4 separate regions of the Homo sapiens genome follow, and regions 2, 3 and 4 are each linked to region 1. The links are contacts of gene promoters, found by promoter capture Hi-C in human tissues and cell types (Jung and others, 2019). All regions are on one chromosome and are shown on one strand. Each heading gives the region's core, a stretch centred on a gene start or on the middle of the fragment in contact. The rest is flanking DNA. Distances are from core to core; before and after follow the strand shown. Region 1 holds the start of DENR (density regulated re-initiation and release factor). Region 2 overlaps CLIP1 (CAP-Gly domain containing linker protein 1). Region 3 overlaps MPHOSPH9 (M-phase phosphoprotein 9). Region 4 overlaps CLIP1 (CAP-Gly domain containing linker protein 1).

Evidence for each region. Contacts are between HindIII fragments. The study calls those that stand out against the background at their distance.
Region 2: a fragment that was not itself captured here is called in contact with the fragment with the promoter of DENR in region 1 in 2 of the 25 tissues and cell types used here (lymphoblastoid cells and mesenchymal stem cells).
Region 3: a contact is called between a fragment that was not itself captured here and the fragment with the promoter of DENR in region 1, in 1 of the 25 tissues and cell types used here (psoas muscle).
Region 4: a contact is called between a fragment that was not itself captured here and the fragment with the promoter of DENR in region 1, in 1 of the 25 tissues and cell types used here (liver).

The regions. Positions count from the first base shown.
Region 1 is chr12:122,751,527-122,754,152 of GRCh38, forward strand. DENR (density regulated re-initiation and release factor) reads left to right here and starts at 1,298. Exons shown (of 8, transcript NM_003677.5): 1 at 1,298-1,424; 2 at 2,167-2,281. The coding sequence starts at 2,176. RefSeq lists enhancers at 1-655, 1,747-1,806 and a silencer at 1,557-1,606. The HindIII fragment of the contact is 19,306 bases long and covers 1-2,626 here.
Region 2 is chr12:122,324,027-122,326,652 of GRCh38, forward strand. The region is part of intron 17 of CLIP1 (CAP-Gly domain containing linker protein 1); the gene reads right to left. Among named protein-coding and RNA genes, the nearest start is that of VPS33A, 59 kb to the left of the region's middle. The HindIII fragment of the contact is 8,257 bases long and covers 1-2,626 here.
Region 3 is chr12:123,167,528-123,170,153 of GRCh38, forward strand. The region is part of intron 16 of MPHOSPH9 (M-phase phosphoprotein 9); the gene reads right to left. Among named protein-coding and RNA genes, the nearest start is that of PITPNM2, 18 kb to the left of the region's middle. The HindIII fragment of the contact is 3,215 bases long and covers 1-2,626 here.
Region 4 is chr12:122,359,533-122,362,158 of GRCh38, forward strand. It overlaps CLIP1 (CAP-Gly domain containing linker protein 1), which reads right to left. Exons shown (of 26, transcript NM_001247997.2): 5 at 1,427-1,649. Among named protein-coding and RNA genes, the nearest start is that of CLIP1-AS1, 35 kb to the right of the region's middle. The HindIII fragment of the contact is 6,251 bases long and covers 1-2,626 here.

The sequences.
Region 1 (2,626 bases), core at 48-2,547:
CCCTGCGGCCTTCTGCAGTGTATTGTGTCTCTGGGTACTTGAGATTAGGGAGTGGTGATGATTCTTAAGGCGCATGCTGCCTTCAAGCATTTGTTTAACAAAGCACATCCTGCACAGCCCTTAATCCATTTAACCCTCAGTTGACACAGCACAGGTCTCAGGAAGCACAGGGTTGGTGGTAGGGTTACAGATTAACAGCATCTCAAGGCAGAAGAATTTTTCTTAGCACAGAACAAAATGGAGTCTCTTATGTCTACTTCTTTCTACACAGACACAGTAACAATCTGATCTTTCTTTTCCCCATATATTCCCATACTCTTACATTTTTCTTTTTTTCATTAAAAAAAATTGTAGGCCGGGCGCGGTGGCTCACGCCTGTAATCCCAGCACTTTGGGAGGCGGAGGCGGGAGGATCCCTTGAGTCCGGGAGTTCGAGACCAGCCTGGACAGCATAGGGAGATTCCCCCACCTCTATAAACAAATTAAAAATTAGCTGGGTGTGGTAACGCGCGCCTGTATTCCCAACTACTTGGGAGGTCGAGGCTGCAGTGAACCGTGTTTGTGCAACTGCACTCCATCCAGCCTAGGTGACAGAGTGAGACCCTGTCAAAACATAAAGAAAAGGATGAAGGAAGGGAGGGAGGAAGGAAGGAAGGGAGGGAGGAAGGAAGGAAAGAAGGAAGGAAGGGAGGGAGGGAGGGAAGGGGAAGAAAGAGACAGAAAGAAGAGAAAGAAGAAAGAAAAGAAAGAACAGAAAAGAAAGAAAAAAGAATTCCTTTAATTTAGTGTATGGTGTTAAAACGCAACCAAACGCTCCATCCGGCGAAGAGAGAGAGAAAAGAAGAGAGGAAGGAAAGAAGGAAGGGAGGGAGGGAGGGAGGGAGAACACCTTCCTTTAATTCAGTGCATGGTGTTAAAATGCGACCAAACGCTCTATCCGGCTGCAATCTCCCCGCACGGGAGTGATTTATGCAGTAGCTGGAGGTTAGTCAGGACTCCAGGATGCACCGCAGACACCGAGGCGATGATCCTCGGACTCATTAATAGGGAGTCATTTGTGACTCAGGTGCGCTCTCTGCGTCTGCAAGTCACGTTCCCTTCGGCACGCCCATCTCGAGGATTCATCCTCTCCAACGGGTGACGAGCACCGCCTGCCGGCGGCCCGCCTCTCGGCCTCTTGGCCACGCCCCCCACCGGAGGGCAAGGCGCACGCTCCGCAATTTTTCTCCGCCCCCGTCTTCCGGCTTCTCGCGACATCCGCCCAGCGGCGGCCGGAATCTCGCGATAAAGGCTCATTGTCTCGCGGGAGCGCTGCTGGCGGTCGGGCGCTCGGGCGGCCCTGGCCGGGGAGACGAGTTGCATGTGTTGGTTCAGCTGGCGATAGCGGCGGGAGCGGAGCCGGCGGGGCCTGTGCGACCGCCTGGGTAACGACCCCAAGTGCTTCTCCCGCTCCCGAGAAGCTCGTAGAGAGTGTGGGGGAAGCTGAGATGCTGCCTGGCGGAAGGGGGCCGGGCCGGGCCTCTCCACACCCCCGCCCACAAGGGCCCCTTCTGGCGTCCCCGGGGTTGCTCCTTCGCCTCAGACCTGGTCGCCCTTGTCCCCTCAGTGCTCTTACATTCTGCGCTCGTTTTCTCTCCTCATCCTTCTTACGCTCTGGTTACCCCGCCCCCTCCCATGCCCTTTTTAGACTCCCCAGGCCCCTCTCATGGCGTTTAGTTGCCCCCACACCCTGCACCCCGGGCTTCTCCGATGACCCACCCCTTGTTCCTAGGCACTTCCAGCCTCTCTCCATTCGGCGCCTTTGTAGCCCTTCTCTCACTGCAGTTTGCATCCCTCCCAGATCACCCTCAGACCTTTTTGCTCCGTGTCTGCCGTGGGTACTCACCCCATCTTTCCTTCCCCATTGCTTCCTGTTTTTCTCTAGTGAGTCCCTCTGCCCCATCCTTCATGGTCCATTTGCTGCTTGCTTCCCTGTAGACCTGTGGAGCAAGGAGATGTTGTGCCTGGGATTGCTCATATTTTATGAATCGAATGCAGCTTGTATCCCCCACTCAACAACAGACTTGAAACAGCTTTGGGGTGGGGAGGTTTCTGTTGAGAGGAACACTGCTCTTCTGGGGTCTTGATTCTAAAATAGTGAGGGTGTGTTATTTTCCTTGCTTACAGGTTTGTGAAATGGCTGCTGACATTTCTGAATCCAGCGGGGCTGACTGCAAAGGAGACCCAAGGAACAGTGCCAAGTTAGATGCCGATTACCCACTTCGAGTCCTTTATTGTGGAGGCAAGTGTTGGTAGCCACAGAATGACTTTTACTCACTATACTTTTATGCATTGTAATAACAGTTTGACATTTGGTAAGCTTTCTTCCCCATCCTTTTCATTTGGTGAGTTTGTACTGGGGGAGAGGAGTCCTGGGGAGGAGGAGGCATGAATTAACAGAGTTTCCCCACCTGGGTGATTTGTGTCTGGCTACTCTGCCTGAAGAAGCTTACAGTCCATTTGTAACAGGATGTGCAACTAGGTTATTTCAGCCTGAAGGTCCTCAAGGTGTATGCTAGTCTAGCTGTCAAAGGAGGGCTTCTTGGAAGATTATGAGTTAAGGATGGCAAGGACTGGATGAGAAGGT
Region 2 (2,626 bases), core at 59-2,558, 430 kb before region 1:
AGAGTTCTTCCTGTACAACATTGATTTCTTTAAGCAATTTCTCTCTCTCAACAGCCAAAGCTTCTTTATTGAGATGTTCCTGCTCATAATACTTTTCGGCATCTTGCTTTTCTTCTAAGAATTTCTCCTTTTCTAAATTAAGAGTTTCATTCACTGACCACAGTTTCTGCTGGTCTCCCTGAAGTAAAGCTATTTTGGCCTCCAATTCTACAAGCTTGGATAAAAGTGAACCGTTTTCTAACTTTAAATCATTTCCCTCCTGAGAAAGAAGCTGCTTCTCTGATTTCAGACCCCTCAGCTCTTCTGACATTAGTTCAATTTCTTTTTTGGCTGATGTTAACAAATAAGTTAGCGACTACAGAAACAAAAGATGGAAAGAATGGAAACAAAAATGAAATCAAGCAGACAAATGCAAGCCCAAATAACTTAATGTAACCTAAATGATAAAAACTTTACAATTTCTACAATAAACTTTATAGAAACTATCTGAATAACAAGGGAAAGAAACTAAACAGAGCCCATAAAAAGGTAAGTCAAAAGTGTAGTTTTGCAAAGTGCTTCTGTATCTGTTAGCTTATTTTATCTTTGAAACAACTTGTGAAATTATTCCCAGTAGCTACCTAGAAGATAAAAATAGTAGCTTGATTTTAATATCAGGGCATAAGATTCTTTCCTGCCATTCCAATTATCAAATTACTTTGAAAGCAGAAAGGATTCATAGAACAATTTTTAAAAATACAATTAAAAGAAGTACAAAAACTCAGTATATTTTAATGAAAAAAGGAAGGGGCATAACAAGGGAAAATAAACTACTGCCTTCCAAACTCACCACAGGACCTTACTTAAGGGTAGCTGAGGGGCTGAGAGTGATTTAGTCCCAATATCACATATAACTTAAAAACTACAGCCTAATTTCTAGGCTTTGCTGACTAAAAGGAATAGTTTTTTTTTTTTATTTACTGAATTATAAGATAATTTGACCACAGTGTCTATACCAGTGCTATCCAGAACTTTCTGCAATGATATAATTTTTTTTTTTTTTTTTTGAGACTGAGTCTCGCTCTATCTATTGCCCAGGCTGGAGTGCAATGGTGCGATCTTGGCTCACTGCAACCTCCGCCTCTGGGTTCAAGCTATTCTCATGCCTCAGCCTCCCAAGTAGCTGGGATTACAAGGCTCCGCCACCGTGCCCGGCTAATTTTTGTATTTTTAGTAGAGACGGGGTTTCACCATGTTGGCCAGGCTGGTCTCAAACTCCTGACCCCAAGTGATCCACCCACCTAGGCCTCCCGAAGTGCTGGGATTACAGGCATGAGCCACCACGCCCAGCTGATATAAATGTTCTTATTTGCACTCCCATCATGGTGACCATATGACTACTGAGCACCTGAAATGTGGTGAGTGCAACTGAGGAGCTAAATTTTTAATTAAAATGTAACAAATTTAAATTTATTTATTTATTTATTTATTTTGGAGGCAGAGTCTCACTCTGTGGCCCAGGCTGGAGGGAAGTGGCGCGATCTCGGCTCACTGCAACCTCTGCCTCCCAGTTTCAAGCGATCCTCTTTTAAGCATATACAAAAATAGAGAAAATAATGTAGACCGCATATATTCCCATATTAAGGTTTTTATTTTTATTTATTTTTTGAGACAGTCTCACTCTGTCACCCAGGCCAGAGTGCAGTGGCACCATCTCAGCTCACTGCAGCCTCCGCCTCCCAGGCTCAAAGGATTCTCCTGCCTCAGCCTCCTGAGTAGCTGGGACTACAGGTGTGTGCCACCACACCCAATTAATTTTTTGTATTTGTAGTAGAGACGGTCTCACGATGTTGTCCAGGGTGGTCTCAAACTCCTGTGCTCAGGCAATCTGCCCACCTTGGCCTCCCAAAGTGCTAGGATTACAGGCGTGAGCCACCAGAACTGGCTACAAATTTACATTTGAATGGCCTCACATGGCTGGTGGCTACTACATTAGGCAGCACAGCTATAGCCCACTGGCTCTTAAAAGTAGGGAATAGGAGGCTTCATGGGTTCCAGGAACCTTGTTGAGTGCACACGTAAACTTTCCTGAAAAAATATCTGTAGATTTCATTAGATTATTCCAAAGAGTCTGGGACTGATTACGATCCACTGAAATTAGATACTAGACACGTTTGGAGGGGAACAGTCCTGGCATTTTTAACTCAATGACTCTTGCACAAAACCAACCAACAAAATCAGTGAGACTGGCCAGGAATGGTGGCTCATGCCTGCAATCCCAGCACCTTGTGAGACTGGCCAGGAATGGTGGCTCACGCCTGCAACCCCAGCGCCTTGTGAGACTGGCCAGGAATGGTGGCTCACGCCTGCAACCCCAGCGCCTTGTGAGACTGGCCAGGAACGATGAATCACGCCTGCAATCCCAGCACCTTGGGAAGCTGAAGCAGGTGGATCGCTTGCATCCAGGGGTTCGAGACCAGCCTGAGCAACATAGCGAGACTCTGTCTCTACAAAAAATAAAAAATTAGCCAGGTGTAGTGGCACGTGCTTTTAGTCTCAGCTACTTGGGAAGCTGAGGCAAGGGGATCACTTGAGCCCGAGAGGTTGAGGCTGCAGTGAGCCATGACTGTGCCGCTGCACTCAGCCT
Region 3 (2,626 bases), core at 87-2,586, 420 kb after region 1:
TCTTTGTTTTAAAATAGCTTAGTGGACTGTGGACTGCCCTTTGTCTTTTAAAGTTTCCTGTGTCCCAACCCCTTTGGACATGCTTATGGTTCACCACAGCATGCGTACTCCAGCTTGCAAACCCCCAACATTTCCAAATAAATTTCTTTGGAGAGTCAGTCTCTGTCACTGATTTTAGGTTGACATGATTGATTTAAATAGTAATAGTGGCTGTTGGCAGGACTGTACTGAACAGCGCAATTCTAGACATTGCTCCCCCAGCTCATCTGAGGTTCCCACCATCATGTTAACCCCCAGTCATTCCCCAGACTTTAGAGCCTGCCTTGTTTTCTCCACACCTATGCCTGTTCTCACACTAGGCAACTTCCTGACCACTCTCTCCAGTGAGGTGACCCTCTACTCCTCAGCCAGCCACCTCAGAGGGTACTTGCTGGCTTTTGTCAAAACCAGAGAACACACTCCCCTTAAGAAACCAATACTCCAAAGACTGTGCCCCTATTCTGCCTCCCGCCCTCAAGCTTCAGCAACGTGACCTACGATCCTTGGCCTCTCCATTTTCCATTTATCAACCCCTCCTAGTCTGACTAGGTCCTCTTGATCTACCCTGAAGTCCACACTCACGATACTTTCTCTCTCACCTTTCACCACACCTGACTGGCAGCAAAATCTGAGGACTGGCTGACTACAAAGGCCGCGCTTCAGGTCTCAACTCCTACCACTGAGCTTTGCTGGAAAAAAGCCACCAGCTGGGCAGACTCATCACCACCTCAAGCGGACACCCCAAACCGCCTGACCGCCTGGCAACATGACTTTCTTTTTTTTTTTTTTTTTTGAGACGGAGTCTCGCTCTGTCACCCAGGCTGGAGTACGGTGGCGTGATCTCGGCTCACTGCAAGCTCCGCCTCCCAGGTTCAAGCGATTCTCCTGCCTCAGCCTCCCAAGTAGCTGGGACTACAGGCGCCTGCCACCACGCCCGGCTAATTTTTTTGTATTTTTAGTAGAGACGGGGTTTCACCGTGTTAGCCAGGATGGTCTCGATCTCCTGACCTCATGATCCGCCCACCTCAGCCTCCCAAAGTGCTGGGATTACAGGTGTGCGCCAACGCACCCGGCCGGCAACATGACTTTCTGTAACCAGCAAGCTTCAGTTCTCCAAACATGACTATCTCACACCCTTTCCACCCTCCTCAAACCTCCCATCCCACCTTCGTTGACAGGTGAAACTTTTGAGTCAAATTCAAAGAAACACCAGAAACCATGAAACAACTCTTGTTTTCTCTCTGTCCCCTTTCACAACCAAACATTTTAGAGGCTGCCTCTTCTATCTACATTCACTTCAACTCCAGTCACTCTTTCCCTCAGTTTTTTTTTTTTTGAGACAGAGTCTCACTCTGTCGCCCAGGCTGGAGTGCAGTGGCGCGATCTCGGCTCACGGCAAGCTCTGCCTCTTGGGTTCACACCATTCTACTGCTTCAGACTCCCGAGTAGCTGGGACTACAGGCGCCCACCACCACGCCCGGCTAATTTTTTGTGTTTTTAGTAGGGATGGGGTTTCACCATGTTATTAGCCAGGATGGTCTTGATCTGCTGACCTCGTGATCCACCCACCTTGGCCTCCCAAAGTGCTGGGATTACAGGCGTGAGCCACTGCGCCCGGCCCAGTTTTTAAATTAAGAACTATTTCAGGGCCAGGCTCAGTGGCTCATGCCTATAATCCTAGCACTTTGAGAGGCCAAGGCGGGCAGATAACGAGGTCAGGAGCTCGAGACCACCCTGGCTAACATGGTGAAACCCCGTCTCTACTAAAAATGCAAAATAAAAATTAGCCAGGTGTGGTGACGGGCACCTGTAGTCCCAGCTACTCAGGAGGCTTAGGCAGGAGAATGGCATAAGCCCAGGAGGCGGAGTTTGCAGTGAGCCGAGATTGCACCACTGCACTTCAGCCTGGGCAACAGAGCGAGACTCCGTCTTAAAAAAAAAAAAAAATCTTCAAACATTCTTGGAAAATTACAAAGAATACTATAACAAGCATCTACTCACCCATTCTCAGTTTTAATAAATGCTAAGATCTTGCCAATTTTTTTTTTTCTTGAGATGGAGTTTTCCTCTGTCACCCAGGCTGGAGTGCAGTGGCGTGATCTCAGCTCACTGCAACCTCTGCCTACCAGGTTCAAGCAATTCTCCTGCCTCAGCCTCCACAGTTGCTGGGATTACAGGGGCCCACCACTGTGCCCAGCTAATTTTTGTATTTTTAGAAGTGACGGGGTTTCACCATGTTGGCCAAACTCCTAACCTTAAGTGATCTGCCCACCTTGGCCTCCCAAAGTGCTGGGATTACAGGTGTGAGCCACGTGCCCAGCCCGATCTTGCAAAATTTGTTTTTAATTATAAGACCAATTTTTATATATTTAATTACACAGAAGGCATAATGTATTAATACACATTTTTAAATGTCTTTTTTTTTTTTTGAGACAGGGTTTTACCCTGTCCCCCAGGCTAAAGTGCAGTGGCATGATCATGGCTCAGTACAGCCTCGACCCCTCAGGCTCAAGTGATTCTCCCACCTCAGCCTCCCGAGCAGCTGGGACTACAGGCGCGTACCACCAACCACCACACCCAGCTTTTT
Region 4 (2,626 bases), core at 49-2,548, 390 kb before region 1:
ACACAGGGGTTTGGGGCTCTTCTCCATTTCATTGTTCTTGTCATGCTTTTCTCATAAAAGTAATTTTTCTGTTGAAGATGCAGGCTTCCTCTTTATGCGCAAATGGAAATGCTCTGAGCAGTACTTATTCTACCTGAACATAGAGGAAGGAAGCCTAGATGGCTGGCAGAGGAGCACAGCCCCACGTGAAGATTTCAGCACCTGTCCCTTCTCTGCCCGACGACAATGGAAGAGCAGGCACCGTGAGATCCTGGGCTAACCACCTCCTCCCCGCAGCACAACGCAACATCCTAGCTCCTGGTCTGCGGTTCCCCACCACCCAGCGGAGACCTGAACTCAGTCTGAGGAAAGTCTGATGCCGCCATTTCTAACTTAAACAGTATTTGCCCCACTTCTAGGTAATAAACTTATGGGCAGGGCTTTGACCCTAATAAAATAACACCTTAATAAACAGAATGAGGTGTTGCCTATTTTAATGCTAGTGATTCTATTTTTACTGCTCTAAACAGGAAAAAGAGGGAGAGAGGGAAAGGGACCAGGAGAAGAAGAGGAAAGAAGAGAGTAATCAAAACAGGCTTTCCTAGTATCCTCTTCCAGCTCCAAGAGTTCCCTTTAGTGTCCTCTGGCTCAAGTCAGGGACACTTCACACACTAACTGCTTCCAGTAGGTCAGGTTGTATTAACATTAAAATCCTATTAACACACCTTTTCTCAAAACACTTCACTTCCTAAAATTATTTGAAGTCAAAGAGAAAGAGAGGCTGGGAGCAGTGGCTCACGCCTGTAAATCCCAACACTTTGGAAGTCCAGGGCAAGAGGATCGCTTGAGCCTAAGAATTCGAGACCAGCCTGGGCAACACAGTGGGTCCCTCTCTCTACAAAAAAAAAAAAAAAAAAAAAATTAAATTAACCAGGCGTGGTGGTGTGCACCAGTAGTCCCAACTACTGGGGAGGCTGAGGCAGCAGGACTGCTTGAGCCTGGGACGTTGAGGCTGGGTGACAAAGTGAGACCCTGACTCAAAAGAAAAAATAAAAAAAAGAGAGAGAGGGAGAGACAGATCTATGGACTTGAAGAAAAGGATCTCTCCAATGTTCCTATCATTTTGTCCTAAAATAATTTCATAGAAAATAATTTGACCCCTGTGTTAGACTAGGCAGTAGTTATACAGATTCACCAAGAACACATGCATTTTTAAGCTTTTAAGAATCTGAAAGGGACTATTAAAAGCACTTTCTGATTTCAAAAAACGCATTCTTGCTGGAGTTACATTTTTCAAAACTTACTTGCAAAGACTTTCACAGCAAAAGCTGTGAGCAACATTCAGCACAAGGACAAGCAAAGCAGCAAAGCAGCAAAGCAGGGGCACTGACCACGGGCCTTAATCCTGCCTGGGAAGTGGAGGCAGGTAGTGAGAAAGGGGCCTTACTAGTCCTGTCCGACTGGGCCTGCTGCTCACAGAGGAGGCCACTGAGCTCATGGAGCTGAGGGAAGAGGCAGAAGGGCTGCGCTTCAGGCTGGCGGACGTGGTCGCCATCACTCGCCTCACTGCGTTGGCCTTGGCTTTGGCTGGTGTAGTGGAAGGGAAGCCAATCTTGGTAACTTTGTGGACAGGAGCGAACAAGCCATATTTGGGTTGACACTGAAAATACCTTTAGAGAACAATAAGAACAATAACAAAAAACAACTTAATCACAAGAAATAATAACTATAACCAAAAGGTTCTCCCAACTCCTAACTTACGGTTGGATTCCTGGAAATTCTACAGCTAAGCTGGGGTTACACACCAGCACGTAGCAGTCACATGTATGTAGGCTAACAACCTCAGTGATGGTTTAGAACACACACTGGTGACAATATGATACACAGAGTCAGAATTGCTCACCTGTTGCTGAGATTCTGCATAAAGGAAATAAATATTTTCACAACCTGATAAATGTACAGCAGAGGAGTTTAGCAATAGAACAAGCCCATTTAATAAAACCGTGCCAAACAAAGGGAAAGGAAATCAAACAGGCACCTAACTTTGGCAGATCCATTAAAGTAAACATGAAGAGTTGGACGTGGTGGCTCACGCCTGTAATCCCAGCACTGTGGGAGGCCGAGGCGGCAGATCACTTGAGCCCAGGAGTTCAAGACCAGCCAGGGCAATATGGACAGACCCCGTCTCTACAAAAAATACAAAAACTAGCCAGGCATGGTGGTGCAGGAGGCTCTCTTGAGCCCAAGAGGTCAAGGCTGAAGTAACCCGAGATTGCACCACTGTAGTCCAGCCTGGGTGACGGGGTGGACTCTGTCTCAAAACAAACAAATAAAAAACTCAAGTGATGGGCGCACCAAAATCTCAGATATCACTACAAAAGAAGTTATTCATATAACCAAACACCATCTGTTCCCCAAAAACCTATTGAAATAAGTAAAATGTATAATTTTTTTTTTTTTGAGACAAAGTCTCAGTCTGTTGCCCAGGCTGGAGTGCAGCGGCGCAATCTCAGCTCACCACAACCTCCGCCTCCCAGGTTCAAGCGATTCTCCTGCCTCAGCCTCCCGAGTAGCTGGGACTACAGGCACACGCCACCCTGCCTGGCTGATTTTTGTATTTTTAGTAGAGACAGGGTTTCAATATGTT